2 separate regions of the Homo sapiens genome follow, and region 2 is linked to region 1. The links are contacts of gene promoters, found by promoter capture Hi-C in blood cells and fetal thymus (Javierre and others, 2016). All regions are on one chromosome and are shown on one strand. Each heading gives the region's core, a stretch centred on a gene start or on the middle of the fragment in contact. The rest is flanking DNA. Distances are from core to core; before and after follow the strand shown. Region 1 has its middle 17 kb from the start of HSPA9. Region 2 holds the start of MZB1 (marginal zone B and B1 cell specific protein).

Region 1 (7,584 bases), core at 5,057-7,556:
GAGCTCCTATTCATCCTGTAAAGCCCACCACTTAAATCTCACCTTCTCTGTAAAAGCCTTCTCTGGCTTCTTGAGCTTGTCACTTGATCCTCTGTGCTTCTAGAGAACTTATCCACAGTTCCATCACAACATATCACAGAGGATTTAATTATTTGCTGGAATGGCCATTCCTCTGAATAGATAATGAGCATATTAAGGGCAGGAAGAGAGTTTTAGTAATCTTGGTATTGCTAGTCCTCATCATTTCTGACACAGAGTAGAAACTCAGTGACTAAATTTTCTTCTTTTTTTTTTTTTATTACCCTGTCCACCTGAGCAGTAACATGCAGCCTTGGGAGAGAACAAAGCTTTTTTTAAGTTGCATTTCATCATAACTTATGGATGCCAAGACTAACTCATAAAGCATTGACTTGAGTCCCCTGTAGGGATGCCTGCAGGCAGAGAGCAACCGAAACAAGGAGAAACTTTGTGCATTCTCAATGTGTCCTGGGATTTGCTGTAGATTCTGGGCAAATCTAGTTCTGTTCTTTATTCCTGTATATCACTAGGACTTTTATGTCTTTGTCTTTTCGCTGAAATCATTCTAATCTAGTTCTCATCCTTTCACACTTGAACTGTAGCAACTGCAGCAGGTATGACTCTCAGTTTATAAATTCATGTGTGTAGGAAGTATCACATTTATTTATATTCTTAAATAAAGGTAAACTCCAATTACATGCTCTGATCCCATCTGACTGTTGGGAAAGTTAATCTAGCTTATTTCTTGTCTTCAAGCTTGCGTTATGGTTCCAAGATCTTATATTTTGGATGAGATTGGAGGGAGCTTTGAGTTGTCCCATCATTTGTACCATCACTTGAGGCCCAGGTACTGACAGCCTGCTCTTCATCCTTGCCTCATCCTCTGGCCTGGGGTCCTATCTCCTAGATATACCATGAGGCCAGGCCTCTCTAGGGTCTTGCTCCCTTCTTAGGTGCTGTCATGCCAGGGATCAAGGCCTGGGTTCCCTTGTTCCAGGACCTACAAACATTCTCATTCCTGACCCCAAAGCATCTCTTTCTAGTCTGCTTGAAGTACCTTCCTGCATCATGCTGCTCTGAGGCCAATTTCCTTAAGTTCTAGGCTCTGTCTTGTTCTTCTACAGTGGTCTTTGATGGTCTTTTTATTTTTTACTTTTATTTTTATTTATTTTTGAGAGACAGTGTCTCACTCTATCACCCAGGCTGGAGTGCGGTAGCATGATCACAGTTCACTGCAGCCTTAACCTCCTGGGCTCAGGTGATCCCCCTGCCTCAGCCTGCCAAGTAGTTAGGATTACAGGCATGTACTACAATGGTTGGCTAATTAAAAAAACTTTTTGTAGGCTGGGTGCGGTGGTTCACACCTGTAATCCCAGCACTTTGGGAGGCGGAGGCAGGCAGATCACTTGAGGCCAGGAGTTTGAGACCAGCCTGGCCAACATGGCGAAACCCCGTCTCTACTAAAAATACAAAAAAAAAAAAAAAAAAAAAAAGCTGGATGTGACAGCGCCATGCCTGTAGTGCCAGCTACTTGGGAGGCTGAGGCAGGGGAATCGCTTGAACCTGGGAGGCGGAGGCTGCAGTGAGCAGAGATTGCACCACTACACTCCAGCCTTGGCGACAGAGTGAGGCCCTGTCTCAGAAAATTCTTTTTTTTTTTTTTTTTTGTAGAGACAGGGACTCACTCTGTCTGTCACCCAGGCTGGTCTCCAACTCCTGGGCTCAAGTGATCCTCCTGCCTTGGCCTGCCAAAGTGCTGGGATTATAGGTGTGGGCCACTGCACCTGGCCTTTTGATGGCCTTTTAAATCCCAAACCCATGTCACTGCAGCCATGTATTGGTTATGGTTTACCTTTTGGTGCATGTTTCTACTTTCCTCATTTAGATTTGTGAACCTTCTCGGGGCAGAGACTACCACTTTCTTGTATCCTGAGTCACCACAGGGCTTTTCATAGTGTGGGGGGCACTTATTAAATATTGATTAATTATGATAATGACGAGGACACAGGACTGTTTGTGAGCACACACAGCCCTGCCACACAGTGAGAATCAGGAAGATGAAGGGAAGAAGGGGCCAGGTTCATTATTGTCATATAATCATGAATATTTCACTGGTTTGTATCACCAAGGAGTAGCCTGTTTGTCCTGCTGCCAGCACAGGAGGAAGCATTTGCCCTGATAATGATGAACAAATTTCCTTGATCGAGTCCATGGGCCAGAGCTCCTCTGGGTGCTGGTCAGGCTGGCTTTGCCCTTCTTTGGCTTCTTCACAGGCTGTCTTGCCCGGCTCTCAACAATAGATTTCTCTGTCACGAATACAAACTAGCCAGGCCCTCTTGAACAAATCAACCTCCCCGACACCTGCTCAGAGCAATTAGCCTTCCAATGTGCTATGGTTAATAAACACGAATGGTTGTTATCTGCTTTTCCTTGGCTGGTCCTATGAGTGTCCTCACACAAATAGGCAGTTTGACCAGAGACCAGCTCCAACTCATACTTGGGTCAGAGAAATGGAACCCGGAACCCTCCTGCCTCAGCCTTCGGGGCTTCATGGATACTCCCTTACCTCAGCCTGCTGTGACCTCATGCCAGCCCCTCTCTGGCCTCCATTTGGATTCATCTGGTGATAAAAAATGAGCAGAGGAGATACCAGTATCATCTGGGTGGTGGGACTAGATGACCTTTAAATCCTGTGACTGCCCATCCTGCAAGTCTTTGATTCTATACTTTCCACTTGCTTGGTTTTTTTTGGAGACGGAGTCTCACTCTGTGGCCCATGCTGGAGTGCAGTGGTGCGATCTTGGCTTGCTGCAACCTCTGCTTCCCGGGTTCAAGCAATTCTCCTGTCTCAGCCTCCAGAGTAGCTGGGACTACAGGAGCTGGCCACCACGCCCATCTAATTTTTGTATTTTTAGTAGAGACAGGGTTTCGCCATGTTGGCCAGGCTGGTCTCGAATTCCTGACCTCAGGTGTTCTGCCCACCTCAGCCTCCCAAAGTGCTGAGATTACAGGCATGAGCCACTGCTCCTGGCCCACTTGCTTGTTCTTAATCAACATTTAAAATCCCCCAAAGGCCGGGAGCGGTGGCTCATGCCTGTAATCCCAGCACTTCAGGAGGCTGAGGAGGGCAGATCACCTGAGGTCAGGAGTTCGAGCCTGGCCAACATGGTAAAACCCCATCTCTACTAAAAATACAAAAATTAGCCGGGCGCGGTGGCACTCGCCTGTAATCTCAGCTACGTGGGAGGCTGAGGTAGGAGAATCGCTTAAACCTGGGAGGCGGAGGTTGCAGTGAGCCGAGATGGTGCCATTGCACTCCAGCCTGGGTGACAAGAGTGAAACTCTGTCTCAAAAAAAAAAAAACAAAAAAAAACCCAGAGTTGGGTGTGGTGGTGCACACCTGTAGTGCTGAGAAGAGGATCACTGGAGCCCAGGAGTTCAAGGCTGTAGTGTGCAATGATGGTGTGCCTGTGAATAGCCACCACACTCCAGCCTGGGTGACATAGTGAGATCCATTCTCTTAAAAAAGAAAAAAATCTCCCAGCTTCCTGCTGGTCCCTTCAACCTCCTTATATCGGCAACCCTTCCTTGATAGATTCACTGCAGCAACACGGGCCTTCTTTCGGGTCCTTGAAGTGTTGCTTCTGCACTTCCATAGGCCCTCACTTCTCCCTAGATCACTTTCTCCCCACCAGCCAGTTGTCTAACCCTATTTAGCCTTCAGGTCCCAACATAAATGTCACTTGTATAGGCAAGCTTCTCCAGCCCCCAGAATAGATTAGATTCCTAAGGCCTAGGCCAGTCCTGCATATTATCTTCCACAGCACTGTCTACACCTATAATACTTTTTTTTGTTTTTTGAGATGGAGTCTCACTCTGTCGCCCAGGCTGGAGTGCAGTGGTGCAATCTCGGCTCACTGCAGCCTCTGCTTTCCAGGTTCAAGTGATTCTCCTGCCTCAGTCTCCTGAGTAGCTGGGATTACAGGCACCTGCCACCATGCTCAGCTAATTTTTGTATTTTTAGTAGAGACGGGGTTTTGCCACGTTGGGCATGGTGGTCTCAAACTCCTGACCTCAGGTGATCTGCCCACCTTGGCTCCCAAAGTGTTGGGATTACAGGCGTAAGCCACTGTGCCTGGCCTATAAGCTACTTTTTAGTAAAAAATTATTTAGTATTTATCTTCTCTAGTGTTTTGATTCTTCATGTATGCAGGGACTATGTCTGTTTTGTTCAAATTTTTATTGCCAAAACCTGGCCCAACATCTGACACCTAGGAGCTGTTCAGTAAACATTCATCGATTGGCCGCCTGCTTGCCATCTCAATCATGAAGTTGCCCTGCTGTTCATTCATGTATTGGTTTAATGTTGTTTCTCTATTGTTTATATGTTTATGCTTGTCTGTTTAATGTTAACTGTCTTAAGTAGTACATTTCTAAGGGGCTAGAATCCATGTATAGAATTTTCTTTGTATGGTGTTTTGTATGTGGGTGTAAGCGTATGTATCTCATTCCCCAACTGTAGGGAAAGAATGAGGAGGTATTGAGAGGCCGAGGCAGGCAGATCACCTGAGGTCAGGAGTTCGAGACCAGCCTGGCCAACATGGTGAAACCCCGTCTCTACTAAAAATACAAAAATTAGCTGGACGCGGTGGCACGTGCCTGTAATCCCAGCCACTGGGGAGGCTGAGGCAGGGGAATCCCTTGAACCTGGGAGGCGGAGGTTGCAGTGAGCCAAGATTGTGCCACTGCACTCCGGCCTGGGCAACAGGGTGAGACTCTGGCTCAAAAAAAAAAAAAAAAAAAAGAGGTAAAATTGAGAAGATGGCAGCAAGTGTTACCATGGAGGAGACTCTGAAACTCAGTCGAGATGACTTCTGAGTCCTTATGGTATTCCTGAAGATGGGCAGGGTTGGGGGCAGGACTGAGGGAGTTTTATGATGTTGTTAAAAGTGGCTGTACTCAGAACTGTGCTATATACTGCAGAGTAACAGGAGGAGGGAAGAGAGAGTCTTCAGGAAATGAAGAAGAAAGAGGAGAAGTGGGCTGAGCTGGAAGCCTCATTTTCCACAAGGACACTGAAACATTGTTAAGCCAAGGAGAACTGTTAGCTCTGACAATAGCTCCTCTTCTTATGAGTCCTTTGGTGTTTTAATTATTTTTAAAATAAAGATTGAAGAACAACTTTTATAACTGCAACTGGAACAATGACAAGCAGTACTGATGGGGTATAATCATAACAGAAACTTTGTTTTCAGCTCCCACTGTTTCTTCTTTTCTTTTTTTTTTTTTCAAGACAGAGTCTTGCTCTGTTGCCGAGGCTGGAGTGCAGTGGTGTGATCTTGGCTCACTGCAATCTCTGCCTCCAGGGTTCAAGCAATTTTCTTGCCTCAGCCTCTTGAGTAGCTGGGATTACAGGTGCCTGCCACCATGCCCAGCTATTTTTTTTTTTTTTAGTAGAGACGGGATTTCGCTGTGTTGGCCAGGCTGGTCTCGAACTCCTAACCTCAAGCAATCTGCCCACCTCGGCCTGCCAAAGTGTTGAGATCACAGGCGTGAGCCACTGCGCCTGGCCCCACTGTTTCTTTAAACCTGCTTTGTAGTGATGGTCTTAAGTGTGCTCCTGGACAAATACTTTTCAGGATCCCTTGGAGGTGTTAGGAAGCCTTATAGCCACTGTACGCAGTACAGCATGATTTCAATTAGGCACTTAAAATGTTCAGCTTGGTATTATCAATGTTTCTGCTTGGTTTTCGAAGCTTAAGCTATTTGCTATTTGTCCTTCCTATCTGGGGCCTGCTGCAAATGAAAAGAAAGGGTGTAGTCTTTCTCTTCTGAAGTTTCTGATCCTTCTAGAATTAGAGCACAAGAAACTAAGAGGCGACAGAAAATATGGTACTTGTCTCATGTCAAAGCTGGCTTTGCACTCTCCTACCTCCCAGTGTGGCCAGTGTTTAAATCTAGCTTTCTCATAAAGCACTTTTGTGGGTTCTTCAGAGATCTGCGCACACACACACACACACACACACACACACTGCTGCTGCTGCTGCTGCTGCTGCTGCTGCTGCTGCTGCTGCTGCTGCTGCAGCAGTTCCCAGTGGCCTGGGCAAGTGGACTCCCCTCTTGTCAGTTGCTTTCGCCCTCTCCAGACCCTCATAATGTAACAGTCCATTTCCAGTTTCTCTTCTGCTCAGGCCTGTTTGCCCTCTGACATTCCTATTGGTCAGGATCTAAAATGCTCTCCAAAACATCCCCCTATGCATGTGCCCCACCTCAGGTCTGTGAGAAACAGGTTTTTGCCCACACAAGCTCTGAACAAATCCCAGCATCACAAAGCAGCTGCTAGCACATATGGTGGCTTCTACATTTTTTTGGGCTGGAGTCAGAAATTAGACCACTCTGTCCTGCTAACTGCAGGAGAAGACACATATCAAACTCTCCTAGGAGTCTCTTCCAAGCTCTTCTCATTAGGCTTGTAGTGAAACACAGGTATCCTCTTTCTTTTGGAGGGGGTACCCATAGCACACGAATACTTTGCACCGAATAAATCCTTTTCAGAAACATTCTCTTAATATCCAACAATTTCTTTTTCCCCTTGATAGGGGTGAAAATTTGAGAGTCCCATAAGTGATTGTCAACTGTTTCCTATGAAAATTTGCATCATTGCTGGCGCCTCACTTTGGTATGACATGGGTACTGCATATTGGAGCCTTACTGAAATTTCCAAATAACACAATGTCATCAAACAAGGGATTTCAGGAACCAAGTGGTTATTTTCTGAGTATAGGTAGGTAATATTATTGTTCTCCTGTCTTCTCTCAAGGAAGCTTAATTGTTCTCATCTCTAAAGTGGGCCCTCATCCTTTCCTTGCTCAGTAAGAGCAGTAAGAAATCTTGAGGATAAAGATGACTCTGCATGGACCACAGGCCCTTGGGAATAGTTAAGTAATCTACAGAGGAAGCCTCTTTCATAAAGAAGGCAAGTAGAGGTGAAGGGCATGATGGAAAGAAGAAAACGCTAATTTCATTAGTGTTTTTCTGATCCCACCCCTACCTCGGTTTGGAGCTGTCCTCTTGTTGTATGAAGGTCTCTATTATAGCCCCCAAAGCAATGCTTATGCACAGCACAGCCAGTGGCTACTGGGCTGCCTTCCCTAACTCCTGTCAGAGAGATCAACAATCCTTGGCTCAGTGTTTCCCTGGCGTATTTGTATCTGTGTCTATGGGTTTAAGGTGGGAGGGGTAGATGTCATCGCCTTTGACAAAATGGCTGAATATCTTTACTTTATCATGATGAAAAGACTTCTTGGTCTTCCAGTTCAGAGCCAGAGCCTGCCTTGCAAGGAATTCAAAGGCTCTGATCTGGAGCTGCTGTCAAGCCAGCAGATGGAGTCACAGTCCTCTGTGTGCTGCTGGGCCTACCTGGGCTGGTGTGCAATGTGATGCTGGGCCCAGCTCTGCAGCCAGAGGGGACAGGGAAATGAATAAAAATGATGGCACCTCATTGCCATAACTGTTGTTCTGACTGCACAGGAGTTTGATAAAATATGCTCCTGGGGAGGTTGCTTT
Region 2 (7,346 bases), core at 2,696-5,195, 800 kb after region 1:
TAGATCAGCTGGCATCACCCAGATCCATAAATTGGCTCGTTGGGACTTGTGGCCTCCACCTAGGAACTGACTCAAGGCAAGGAGACAGCTTCAACTCCCTATGATTTCAGTCCTGACCAATCAGCACTCCTGGCTCACTGGCTTCCCCGCCATCCACCAAGTTGTCCTTAAAAACTCTGCTCCCTGAATGCTTGGGGAGACTGATTTGAGTAATAGTAAAACGCTGGTCTCCTGCACAGCCAGCTCTGCGTTAATTAGTCTTTATTGCAATTCCCCTGTCTTGAGCAATCGGCTCTGTCTAGGCTTGAGCAAGGTGAACCCTTTGGGCGATTACATCACCACACCATTGATGGCTCCCTCTTACCTCTGGAAGTTGTAGGGATGCAAATTTGGCCTTCTGTAGGAGGGATGTAATATTGTGAAATATATATTTGGTCTTTGACCTCTGTTTCCTGGAGTACAATTTCTAAAATCTTAGAATCCCCAAAATGATGTCTTCTTGTGTGCTAATGATTGACTGATGGCTGGCAGCCCCTAGGGTAGCTTCAGGACAGGGGCTGGTCACCAGAGAGACCAAGGCAGGATTTCAGCCTCCCCTCACCCCCCATCCCCAGTCAAGGGAGGGCAGACAGGTTGGAGGGTAAGTTGTTCGCCAATGGCCAATGGCTTAATGAATCATACCTACGTAATGAATTATCCACAGAAACTCAAAATTGCAGGGTTCAGAGATCTTCTGGATAGCTGAACACGTGGAGGTTCCTGGACGGTGTTGCATCCATGGAGGGCATGGAAGCTCCGAGCCCATTCCCCATACCTTGCCCTACACATCTCTGCATCTGTATCCTTTGTAACATCCTTTATAATAAACTGGTAAACGTTTCTCTGAGCTCTGCGAACCACTCTAGCAAATTAGTTGAACTCAAAAGAGGGGGTTGTGGGAACCTCATCTTGAAGCCAGTAGGCCAGAAGCTCCAGAGGCCTGGAGTTGGAACTGGTGTCTGAATGGGGGACAGAATGGTGGACTGAGCCCTCAGCCTGTGGGATCTGACACTATCTCCAGGTAGATAGTGCCAGAATTGAATTTTGGAGGGCACCCAGCTGGTGTCAGCTGCAGAATTGCTTGCCTGGTGTGTGGGGGAAAGCCCCCACGCATTCGGTCACAGCCATCTTCTGTGCTGTTGTCGAGTGAGAGAATAGAAAAAGCATTTTGAAGGCCGGGCGCGGTGGCTCATGCCTGTAATCTCAGCACTTTGGGAAGCCAAGGCGAGCGGATCACCTGAGGTCAGGAGTTCAAGACCAGCCTGGCCAACATGGTGAAATCCCGTCTCTACTAAAAATACAAAAATTAGCCGGGCATGATGGTGGGTGCCTGTAATCCCAGCTACTCAGGAGGCTGAGGTGGGAGAATCGCCTGAACCTGGGAGGTGGAGGTTGCATCGAGCCAAGAACACTGCACTCCAGCCTGGGTGACAGAGTGAGACTGTCTCAAAAAAAAAAAATTGATTTTGAGAGTTTTTTTTTTTTTTTCACAAGGGACATCAGCAGAAACACCAATGTCTGCACTCCCAGCCCCACAAGCACCTTTTGCAGAGAAAAGAAGTGAGGTCACTGGGTTTTATTTGAGTCCAGAGGGGAAGGCGTTGACTCCCACCCAGGCCCGAGTGCCCTGAGGCTGGAGGAGGGAGGCAGGATGGCAGCACAGAGCAAGGGCTTCCTGCCCTCCTGGCTGCCTGCAGACGGGAGTGGAGACCGTCAGAGCAAGCCCCAGCTTCTTTCAGAGGAGGGTAGAGTCCAGGACTAGAGCTCTTCTCTTGTGGCTGACACCTTCTCTGAGCAGGCCCCCTGGGGTCCCCCACATAGCAATGCCTCCAGAGCCCCTCGGCCTTGTTGGTGGGCTTCATAGATCTGGTCTTCTCCAAACTCCCCCAAGTAGTGCAAACATGTCCTGGAGAGCCTAGGGGAGCCCAGCAGGAGCCTCAGATGCTGCCCAGCCCACAGTGGGGCAAACCAAGGCTCCAGGAGCTTCATCCTATCCCCAAGCCCCGGGCATCACCTGGTAGGCCAGGGGCCCCCTGTGACCATCACGCTGATGCTTGGCTCTGGCCCCTCGCTAAGTCCTGGGCCTGTGAGACGTTTCACTTGGTCCACTTCTCGAACTCCGTAGCTGGTGGCAGTGGAGAGGAGAGGAGTACAGTTTTGGCAGGAGCCCAGCCAGGGAGAGACCCATCTCCACAGCAAGCTGGACATGCTGGGCATTTGTGGAATTCAGAGAGGGAAAGCCCCTGGCCCAAGGTCACAAGGTGACCTTGTCCACTGGCCCTCTGCTCTCCCACTTGCTCTCAGCTCCAGAGCCCAGACTTCATCCCAGCCAGCCCCTCCCTTGGACCAGAGTCCTAGAGGAGTGTGTGTGTTGTGTGAGCGGCTGAGTGGGAATCTCCACCCACCAGGCCTGCCCTTGGAGGAGGGAGGTGGGGGGCAGGATTGGCAACTCACTCCTGCCAGTTCCGGGAGCAGCTCCGGTCCAGGACATCCGTGTAGACCAACTCGCTCAGCTCCCGCCGCCCCCCAGAGTTTGAGGTATGAAGTTTGGTCTCTGCCTTTGCCAGATTTTGCCACATCTGGAACAAGGAGGGACTGGGAGGCAGGGCCTCAGGACTGCTGCTCAGTTAGGGGGAGGTGGGGAGGATAGGAGCAGAGTCTCTGGGGAAAATAAAGTGGCAAGAGAGCCGTTTGAGCAGGAAGCACCTGTGAGGCTGTTGCATGGCCCCTCCCCCAGCCCCCAAAGCTCTCTGGGATGGGGATGGGGGATGGGAAAGAAATGCTGAAGTGGTAGGTGAGGCCTGGGCACTGGGGTCCCTCGTCCAGGGCACACCTGCCCAGTGGCAAGTGTCATTTTATTTTTATTTATTTATTTATTTAGAGAGAGTCTCACGCCGTTCGTCGCCCAGGCTGGAGTGCAGTGGTACGATCTCAGCTCACTGCAGCCTCCACCTCCCAGGTTCAAGTGATTCTTCTCCCTCAGCCTCCCAGGTAGCTGGGACTACAGGTATGTGCCACCACACCCGGCTAAAATTTTGTATTTTCAGTAGTGACGGGGTTTCACCATGTTGGCCAGGCTGGTCTCGAACTCCTGAGTTCAGGCGATCGGCCCCGCTCAGCCTCCCAAAGTGCTGGGATTACAGGCGTGAGCCACCGCGCCCGGCCGGCACGTGCCATTTTAAACCACAAGAGCAAGGTAAGAAAAACTGGAGCCCAATATTCAATCACACAAGTACTCCCAGGCCCCCACCTCACAGAGACACTGGCACGCAGGCATGCTCAGCAGGTGTGTGTGTGAAGCCAGACACACGCATACTCACGTGCAGGCGCTCACACGTGTGCACTTGCACCATGTACACATAGCCAAAGCCGCCCCGTCAGGGTTGGGGAGGGAGTCCGGACTCAAGGATGGGCCTGGAAAGGGAGAAGTCTAAGGACAAGTGAGTGATTCCCTGGGGTCTCAAAATACTGAGGAGGTCTCCCAGATTGTCTGCTGTTAGGCAGGCAGATGGGTAAACTGAGGCATGGAATATATGAAAGGCTGCATCTGTGGCTTGATGCCCAGTGGTAGGGATTGGGGATCAAAGGCCGGTGGTGGAATGTGAGGTGGGTGGAGGGGTCTGGCTTGAGAAGGGGTGTGAGCAGGGCAGGGTGACAGTGGTGAAGGACTCACCTGGTAAGCCACAGCTCTGCAGGCATCACAGCGCAGGTGAGCGGGCATGTGGGCTGAGTACATCTCCTCATCATCCAGTTGTGGGGCTGTGGCTGTGAGTGGCGCCCTGTCCCCGAGGCCCCCTGGGATGGCCCAGGCTCCCAGCAGCAGCAGCAGCAGTGGCAGTGACAGCCTCATGGCCCCAGGAGCCAGTTCAGCAAGTGTAGTCTGTGGTTGAGGTGCAGATGTGTGTGTGCTTGTGTGGTGTGGGGACCGCCACAGAACACCTGGCCTAGACCAATGGGGAACTGACACCTCACCCCTCCCATCCTCCTCCCACTCCCTCCTCCAGGGCCCCGAAGATGCCACGTGGGCATTGTCCTCTAGCTGGACCCTGGCTCCAGCCATCTCAGCTCCATTTCACAGATAGGGAGCACTGAGGCAAGGAGAGGGGCTGGGCCTAGGCAGGAACACATAGGGGCCGATACTGCCCACATCCTGTGATCTGGCCAAGTGGCAGGCACTGTGCTGAGTGCCTTGTGGGAAGAGTTGGTTGGCTGCCGTCATCTTTTTTTGTTTCATTGACCTTTCTGAGAAATGAGACTGTCATGTTTATTCTGCCTCTTCCGACACAAAGGCTCAGAGAGAGGTGACAAATCCAAGGCCACATAGCTAGAGGGGCCATGCTGAGAAACCCAAGCCTGATTGACCCCAAGGCTCCCTGGCCACTCAACCACCAGAAGGAATGAGGTGTGGCTGCCAGCCTCCTGGGAGGCAAGTTCAGGGAGACAGGGATGCTACAGTGTTTCCAAGACACACATGGTCTCCTTCCCTAGCCCTGAGGTCCCCTCCACCCAGGCCATACCCAGGCGTGGAAGGGCACTGTGGAGGGTGTTGAGAGGCTGTGGCAGGAAATCAGGCACCTCACACCAGTTATTTCAGCCATGATGGCTCCATGGTCAGTGATTTATTACACACCAGGATGAGGTAAAGACACCTGGGGTGGCCCCAGGGCCCTCCATGCCATCGGAGCTGGCATCTCCAGCTAGAAAATGGCCAGTTGTTCTGATTCGTAGCTCTCCTAGTCAGCTTCCAGTCCAGGGCAGAGGGCAGGGACTGCTAGGGACCTGGGCCCCCTGACAGGCCTGGAACAACGAAGGCATCCATCCCCATCCCTGCCACTGCTTCTCATGGAAACTGTCCTTCCCAAACTCATCACATCACACACCAGGCTGGCAAGGGCCAGCCATTTCCGGTTCAGAACTATATACAGACCCCCACGCACACCACCTCCCACCTCATGCAGACCCCCCTCATCTCCCTCAGAGGCTCCTGGAATCTCAGGGCAACTGAAGTGCAGGCTCTGGGCCCTGTCCCTTGCTGTGACTGGTCTGTAGGGCCAGCCCCTCTCTGGCCATTGTTGCCACATCTGTTACTGGGGAGTGGAACCTGCCAAGAGCTTCAGATCCCTCTGGATACTCCACCAGGGGTATCGCTTCTACTGCTGGCCCTAACCCACCTTCTGGCCACACAGAGGGGTCAAGAGGCTCCTGTGGGACAAGAGCCCAACCCTCCCTCTTCTCAGAGCTTCCTGATGACCATTTCACCTACTCCCGATGTAGGGGGTGGGGGACTGAAGCCCCACCCCTGGCCCAAAAATGAGTCAGCTCAGCTCTGAGGGCCAGGCTCCCCATCTTCCCACCCCAAGTTCCAGGCTAACCCCCAACCCAGGCCCTCCCTGTATTCCTTGCTTTGCCTCCACCTGCTGTCCCCCGCCTTAGCTCTTTCTCGGAGCCAGCCTGGCCTGGGCTGTACTGGCCACTTTCCCCCCAGTAACCTCCAGGGCCAAAGCTCAGCTCCTCTTCCTAAGAGCAGACTCGACAGCCAGAGTCCTTCCTGCCACCTCACCAGGGGCACTGGCCAGCCTCACCTCAGCTGGGCCCACCATCAGGGAGGGCAGACAGTTCCCCGCCCTGTCTCCTGCTGCTCCCGTTCCTGCTGCCCCACGGCAGCCACAGCACCTCCTCTGATCGGCTCCTGGGGACAAGCCCAGGGATGCCTCACTTTCCCTATTTGCTTGCCCGCATATACACATATACACACACCCACACACCACACCACACCACGCCCTGGGAATGCCTGGGAAAGGGATACATAATTTTGTTGGGGGAGGAAGTAGGCAGCCACTTCCTGGGTGACTCCAGCTCCACCAGCCTCGGGGCTCAGATTCATTCTCTGAAGATCACTTCCTGTCCGACGACTGACTGGGATGGGTTAAAGACAGAGGCGACGGAAGGAGAGGAGGGTAGGGGCTTGGATGCCAGAACCTCCCAGGCATCCAAGGGCTCCAACTCCATGGGGATCGGCCCGGGGCCTCACAGCGGGAACAATGAACCCTTGCCGGGCTGGGTGGGACCTGAGCTGGAGGGCGGCGCACAGAGGAGCAGAGGAGGTGCGGGGTTGGGGGTCCCGCTCACCGGCAGGTAGTAGGTCCCGTCCAGGGGCCCTGCCTCAGAGACCCAGGGTAGCTGGGGGCTGCCGAGGGCCTGCGGGCCCGGGGACGGTGGCAGAGAGAGGCTGGGTATAGGCCCATAGGCGGGCGGGTAGAGGCCGAGCCCCAGGGCCAGAGGGGTGTAGACGCGGTGGGGCGGCCCGGGAGACGAGGGCGGCAGCAACACCTCCACGTACTGCCCACTCTCAGGGTCGAAGAGCACCCGCAGCCGAGGCTGCCGCGGCGCCTCCACAAAGTAGTAGCGGCCGCTCTCGGGGTCCACCAAGACCTTCCCCAGGGGCGCGGCCCCGGGCTGCCTGCGCGCTCCCTGGGAGGGGCTTTGCGGGGACCGGTCCGTGGGAGGCGCCGAGGCAGCGCGGGGCTGGGCTGGGGCCGTCCTGCCCGCCAACGCCAGGGGCTCCCGCGGGAGTGGCGCCTGGACGGCAGCCGCGGGCTCGGGGGCCGTAGGTGGTGTCTTCGGTTTGGGTGCTATCCCAGGGCTCGGGCTGGCTTGCATCTGAGGGGAGCCGGGGCGGGGCGATCGGACCCCTGCTGGCCCTACGGGGGAGCGCTGGGATGAGCTGCGGGCGCCGCCTAGAGGGCTGGTCCGACCGTCGCCGTCGGGGACCAGGCGCTGGGCCTCTACATCCCTGTTCTCTCCTCCAGGGCCGCGCGCTCGCACTCGCGAGGTTACCTCGGGCCGGCGACCCAAGGCCAGGGCCCCAGGCAGGCGGATCTCTGTGCGCTTGAAGGGCTTCGCCGTGCTGTTCTCTGCCCTCCGCCGCAGGACCCCGTTGGGCTGTGAGGCGTCCCGGGCGACCGTGTCGAAGGACGGTTCAGGAGGCTCGTAGGGGTGCGGCACCACCGGTAGAAAATCCTTGATGAAAACGGAAGTGTAGTGAGCCGGGGCGGGGGGCCCCAGTGCTGGCGGCTCTTGCGTCTTGGATTCGCCGCCCTCCTCCCCGCAGGGGTCGGCAGGAGGCGCAGGCAGCCCAGAGCCTTGTGCTCCTGCCGGGAAGCCTGGCGCGTACGTGGTCTTCACCAACTTGCGCACGTCTCGAGGCCGCGGAATGGCCATGCGCGGGCGTCCCGAGGCCGCCTCTCCAGGACCCAAGACTTCCGGGCACTTATCCGCGTCCAGGGTGCCCACAGGGTGGCTGCCGG

What was found. Contacts are between HindIII fragments. The CHiCAGO score rates a contact against its expected background, and 5 or more counts as called.
Region 2: a contact is called between the fragment with the promoter of MZB1 here and a fragment that was not itself captured in region 1, in 1 of 17 cell types (erythroblasts). The highest score is 5.7, in erythroblasts.

What each region holds. Positions count from the first base shown.
Region 1 is chr5:138,588,184-138,595,767 of GRCh38, forward strand. No RefSeq gene overlaps it. Among named protein-coding and RNA genes, the nearest start is that of HSPA9, 17 kb to the left of the region's middle. The HindIII fragment of the contact is 1,068 bases long and covers 5,773-6,840 here.
Region 2 is chr5:139,385,968-139,393,313 of GRCh38, forward strand. MZB1 (marginal zone B and B1 cell specific protein) reads right to left here and starts at 3,946. Exons shown (of 4, transcript NM_016459.4): 1 at 3,713-3,946; 2 at 2,494-2,618; 3 at 2,054-2,164; 4 at 1,500-1,954. The coding sequence starts at 3,889. The coding sequence ends at 1,798. PROB1 (proline rich basic protein 1) reads right to left here. Exons shown (of 1, transcript NM_001161546.2): 1 at 4,625-7,346. The coding sequence ends at 6,067. It also overlaps a transcript of SPATA24 not described here. RefSeq lists enhancers at 651-770, 2,013-2,062, 2,631-3,178, 3,179-3,726, 3,703-4,112 and 4 more and silencers at 5,083-5,132, 6,403-6,812. The HindIII fragment of the contact is 10,488 bases long and covers 1-7,346 here.